2 separate regions of the Homo sapiens genome follow, and region 1 is linked to region 2. The links are contacts of gene promoters, found by promoter capture Hi-C in blood cells and fetal thymus (Javierre and others, 2016). All regions are on one chromosome and are shown on one strand. Each heading gives the region's core, a stretch centred on a gene start or on the middle of the fragment in contact. The rest is flanking DNA. Distances are from core to core; before and after follow the strand shown. Region 1 overlaps KATNB1 (katanin regulatory subunit B1). Region 2 holds the start of ADGRG1 (adhesion G protein-coupled receptor G1).

Evidence for each region. Contacts are between HindIII fragments. The CHiCAGO score rates a contact against its expected background, and 5 or more counts as called.
Region 1: a fragment that was not itself captured here is called in contact with the fragment with the promoter of ADGRG1 in region 2 in 1 of 17 cell types (megakaryocytes); the score reaches 5.2 in megakaryocytes.

What each region holds. Positions count from the first base shown.
Region 1 is chr16:57,738,286-57,740,985 of GRCh38, reverse strand. The region is part of intron 2 of KATNB1 (katanin regulatory subunit B1); the gene reads right to left. Among named protein-coding and RNA genes, the nearest start is that of KATNB1, 3.9 kb to the right of the region's middle. The HindIII fragment of the contact is 6,249 bases long and covers 1-2,700 here.
Region 2 is chr16:57,627,180-57,629,879 of GRCh38, reverse strand. ADGRG1 (adhesion G protein-coupled receptor G1) reads right to left here and starts at 1,250. Exons shown (of 14, transcript NM_201525.4): 1 at 1,078-1,250. RefSeq lists a silencer at 1,139-1,208 and enhancers at 758-1,413, 1,414-2,069. The HindIII fragment of the contact is 3,448 bases long and covers 1-2,626 here.

The DNA of each region.
Region 1 (2,700 bases), core at 12-2,511, 110 kb before region 2:
GCTCACACCTGATGCTGAGGACTCCCTCAGAGCGCGCCTACGTGCTGCTTAGTAGCAGGCGAGGGCTCCGTGACATTGGGCAGGCTCGGGGCTAGTCACCATGAGAGAGTGGGCATGGGGGCCTGGGCGGGCACCAGAGGGTGGGCTTCATGAGGAGGGGGCAGGAGGCAACAGACTGAGCAGCTGGGGTGGGGGTGAGGGCTGACCACACAGAGGAGGAGCCTGTGCAGACAGCCCAAGGCCCTGGCCTGGTCCGTGGAGATGGCAGACAGGAGCCTCGGAGGACTCCGCAGGGAGCAAAGCACAGGCAGGGAACCAAGAGGCGGCCCGGGCCTCAGAACCCATCCCTGCATGAGCTCCTCCTGGAAAGAAGGGAGAAAAAAGACAGTTCTCCCCACACAGGCCAGGGGAAAACCCCAAGGTGCTGACGCCCCGAGGCACCCGGAAGGCCAGCGTGGGTGACGCCAAGGAAAAGGGTGTTGGAGCCACGGCGCTCCACAGAGGCCCCTCCTGCACCCCAGCTCCGACTCCACCCTGCCTGGGTGTCTCTGCTGCGGGCTTCAGACCACAAGGAGGTTGGGAAACTGGGCCCAGGGAAGCTGCTTGCCAGAAACCTGGGCTCCAAGGGGCCACCAGGAATACCCAGGGGACAAGTCGCAGGCTGAATCTCACTGATGACACCCTGCCTCCTGGGCCGGTCGGGGCAGAGCCAGCACAGGCAGCAGCGCCAGCAAGGGCGAGGGTTCCCTGTGGGCCCAAACCTGGGCCAGGGCGCTGGGAGTTCGCCATGGGGATCCCAGGGAGCTGGGCCCCACTTTAGTCCCGTCTCGATGAGAGCCTTCTGTCCTCTGGACACTGTCGGGACAGAAACCTGAGGAATTCCAGCCACAGACGTGTCTGTTCAAGGTTTCCACCTGACCCAGAAAGAGGGCAAAGCACCTTCTCCCTGGCATTCCGTGCCCGAGCCTGGTGTCCTCTCCGTGGAGGCACTGCTCGCTCCCCCTGGCCTACCTGGAGGGCTCTGTCTGTCCCCTGGCCCTCACTCCTCCCAGGGAAAGTGTCTGGCTGGGCCCCACCTCACTGGGCCTCAGGACTGCTGCCCCTGGAGTCAGGGGCATTCATTCATAATATCAGTATTTCCTGGGTGCCTGTTCTAGGCCTTGCACGAAATATGCCCCAGTATAATCAGATGGTGGTGGGGGCGGGACACTGAGCTGGCAAAACCGCAGACTTTGGAGTGAGAAAGATTTAGAAGTTGGGCCCTTCTGGAGGAGCCCACATCACTCCCCTCTAAGCAGCCTGACCAGGGACTGACTGGAGCCCACAGAGGGAGGGCAGAGGGGCAGGGACACAGCACAGGCACCTGCAAAGGAGGCACGGGGCACCACCCCAAGAGCTCCTCCTTCATCCTGGCTTGTTGGACAGCAACCAACAGCCCAGGCCGAATACTTGATTTTCATACCAAAAATAAAAAATAAAAATCCTCAGTGTCTACTGGCAGGCCAAGCTCTGGGAGTACAACCTGGGCCCCACATCCAGCCAAAGCTGGGGAACATGGTGCGGCGTGGCCAGAGGGGCTGAGGATCAGCATCCCAAATGCAAGATACAAAGTACTAGGTTTCAACGACCTCATGTGGGCCACGCACCTCTGATCCTCACCAGACCCTGGAGCCACAAGGAGCCAGAGGTCACGTGGCCCTGGGCTCTTCAGAGTTGATTCCCACGGACACCACCGTGCACATGAAATCAGCAGCAGCAGCAGATGCCCAATACGCCTGATCTCATTACCTCCTGCTCGCACACACTGATGGCTTGGCCTTGCCTTTATGATAAAGCACGGCAGCCTCAGGAGGGCTGGGGTCCTGAGAACTCAGTAGGTCCGTGCGGCCCCACATTCCTCCTGCTGCTGTGCCACTGCCCATGGCCTCCCTTGAGTCCTTCCAATACACTGAGCCTCCTGCCTCAGGGCCTTTGCACTTGCTGTTCATGCAGCCTGCAGCATTCCCACCCCACCCCTACCCCTACCCCCCAGCTAACTGATTCAAAGCACAGGCACCAGCTTGCAACTAGAGGAGACACAGAGGGATACGGTTATCCAGTTCCTGCCTGTTGCTCTCCCCAGGCTCTGAGCTCCCGCTGTACAGAGACCTTGACTACTTTGTCCCCCAGTGGCTCCCCAGTGCCTAGCTCTGGGGAAAGGCCAGCTGTCGAAGGGATGAATACGTAATCCCAATAATTACAAAGCCACTCTGACCAAAGTGTGCCTTCCTTGGGGAACCATAACAGGGTTCTCCCAGAGCCCTAGAGTTTTGGGGAACAACATGAAAATGGCCCAAACCTCTCACTTTACAAACAAGGAAACAGAGGCCCTGCAAAGAGCTTTGCCCAGAGTCTTATGGTTAAATTCATGGTTAAAAAGTGTGGAGTCTTGGCCAGGCATGGTGGCTCATGCCTGTCATCCCAGCACTTTGGGAGGCTGAGGCACGTGGATCACCTGAGGTCAGGGGTTCGAGACGAGTCTGGCCAACATGGTGAAACCCCGTCTCTACTAAAAATACAAAAATTAGCCGGGTGTGGTGGCGGGTGCCTGTGATCCCAGCTACTCGGGAGGCTGAGGCACGAGAATCGCATGAACCCGGGAAGCAGAGGTTGCAGTGAGCTGAGATTGCACCACTGTACTCCAGCCTGGGTGACAGTGAG
Region 2 (2,700 bases), core at 1-2,500:
CCCAACTCTACCACGCAGGGGAGGTGGGTTGGGGACGGGGGAGGACAGGAATCATTGGTTTCCTACACACTCCCAGCCCCCGCGGGGACCAGGGTGGGAAGTCCTATCAGTGCCAGGCAGATGGAGCCCTGAGGTCTGGTGGCAACGGGCAGGGTGTTCAGCCCGCAGCCTGCGCTTCCCCGTCTGCCTGTCACCGGTTCCAGGACTCTCACCCACGTGGCCCACGTTCAGAGACCCTGCGGGGCCACCTTCTCCCAAAGCTGGCCTTGGTGATGAAGAGCACGGCTGTCCCTTGCTCAGTGGGGACCCCGGACCCAGCCCCAGGGACAGCTGCAGGAAAGCTGTCCTCAGGAGTTCCCTCAAGTGCCACCCCCTCCCTGAGCCTGGCCCCTGGCTTTCTATACCTGGATGTGCTAGGTGACCTTGGGCAAGCCACCTGCCCTCCCAGAGCCTCGGTTCTCCCATCTGTGTAGTAGGAGCACTGATCTCACAGCCTAAAGAGCAGACCCCAGCTTGCTGGGCCCAGTGACTGTACCACTCTGAGCCTCAGTTTCTCCAGCAACAAAATGCCTGGGAGCCCCGGGAGGTGTCGCTCCCCTTGGGCCCCAGTCCCCTCCCAGGCATCTCCTTGTGGGTCCGCCCCCACTCTAGAGACCCACCCACAGCCATGCTGACCTGGACTAGATCCCACCAAGATACCAAGACCCCCCCATTTCCCCATTTCACCACCATCCCTACCCACTGTCCAACAGCCACCCGTGCACGGATGCACACATCCACACTTACACTCACATACACTCCCACACTCACACTCACACTCATACTCACACACACTCACTCACACTCTCACACTCAAACGCTCAGTCACACTCTCACACTCACACTCACATTCTCACTCACTCTCACACACTCACACTCACACACTCTCACACTCTCACGCTCACACTCACACTCACACTCACTCTCACACACTCACACTCACACACTCACACTCTCACACACTCACGCTCACACACTCACACTCTCACACTCACACTATTCCCCTTCCCACCTGCTGTCCAGCCCTTGTTTGGGTACCTGCTGCCAGGTGGAGGGTCCCACGCAGGGCCAGGCGGCTGGACCACCTTTCAGGATCCACCCCCAGAGGCTTAACCTGCCAGCCCTGGTCCCCGCTGCCTGCCGAGTGAGCTGGAGAGCGTGGGAGGCTCCCAGCCCATCTCCTACGGCAGGGCAGGGCAGACAGCTAGTGCGGAGAGGGAGGGACCGGGTTTGTTTGGTGGGGAGACACCCCTCTCCTGCCCCAGCTGGGCTCCTCCCTCCTCCCTGAGCTTGACTGGGGATGACGGACGATATATGTGAGTCATGGATTTCTCAGAGGGAGACCAGGAGGGGGCAGGGCTGAGAGCGCTGAGGCAGTGATCCTGGGGGATGCCCATGACTCAGCGCCGGGCAAGGGGGCACCTCAGCCTCACCCCTCATCCAGGCAGACAGTGTTCAGGGACAGGAAGGGGCCGGGGATCACTCTGCTTCCTCAGCCTCCATCTGTCGCCTCCCAGGGCCAGTCTCCCCAAAGTTCCCACAGAGAGGCCGGGGTTGCCACGGCAACAGGGCCCTTGGATGCTGTCCGCCCACCCCCCAGGTCAGGGCGACAACTGCCCTTTCCTGAAGGAGAGTCCAGCCTCCTTGGCAGCCGACGGGAGCCAGTGCTGACCGGCAGAGCGGAAGGCAGTCGGGAGGGAGCGGGTGACAGGCAGCCGGGCAGGAGGCCAGCCAGGCCACGCACGACTGACCGGCTGACCTGCGTCCCCCCGGGGGGTGACCCGTCTCCCCTCTCAGTGCTCCTCAAGCACCCACAGTTTCAACATCCCAAGTCATTTTGGATTCTGAGACCCCAGGGGCTTCTGGAAACGGCCTCCTTTAATCCATCTGCTGAGCCAAAGGGGAAACCGAGGCCTGGGTGAAGAGCCATTCCCAGTGGCCCCAAAAGCTCAGACAGAGAAGTGTGGAAATGGACCATGCCCCATCCCCCTTCTGGTCATTCCTCTGTCAGCAGCACCTCCCGCTGCTGGGGTTCAGTGCCCTTCTCGAGTCAGGAGGCTTTGGATAACTCACACTCCCTGCAGAGGCTCCTGTCTGCCCTCCTCCTCCGAGCAATGAGGATAGATGATTCCTCAGTCAGATGTGCTGGGAGGCTTTTACAATGCCAGAAGGGTGAGTGGTGACAATAACAGTAATTACACTCGCTGACCACCGTCTGCATTCCAGCTCCAGAGCGCCCCTGGCAGTGGAGAGAAGTCAAACCTGCTACTCAGACCAGTGCCTGGTACTTGCCAAGCCCTCAATAAATACTCCCTGTGAATGTGGTGATGAAGAAGAGGGAGCTTAAGGCAGATACATGTAGCTCAGAGATGAGAATTAACCTGCCCAAGATCACACAGCAGGGAGGTGCCCGAGTTGGGATGGCGGGAGCACAGGCCGTCTGGCTCCATAGCGGGTCTCCTAACCACTCAGCAATCCAGCACCCCAGGCCTCAGCCTGGGGCCTGGACACGTGGATGCTTGGGGAACTTGAGATTCCTTCTCTCCGGTAGAGATCTGCCTTCTAAACAAGGGGGCCAGGAAAAGCTTCCCCATGCCACGTGGAGGAAGAATGAATGGAACGTCTCGGGCAGCCTAGGAGCCAGGGCTGCTGCAGGTGAAC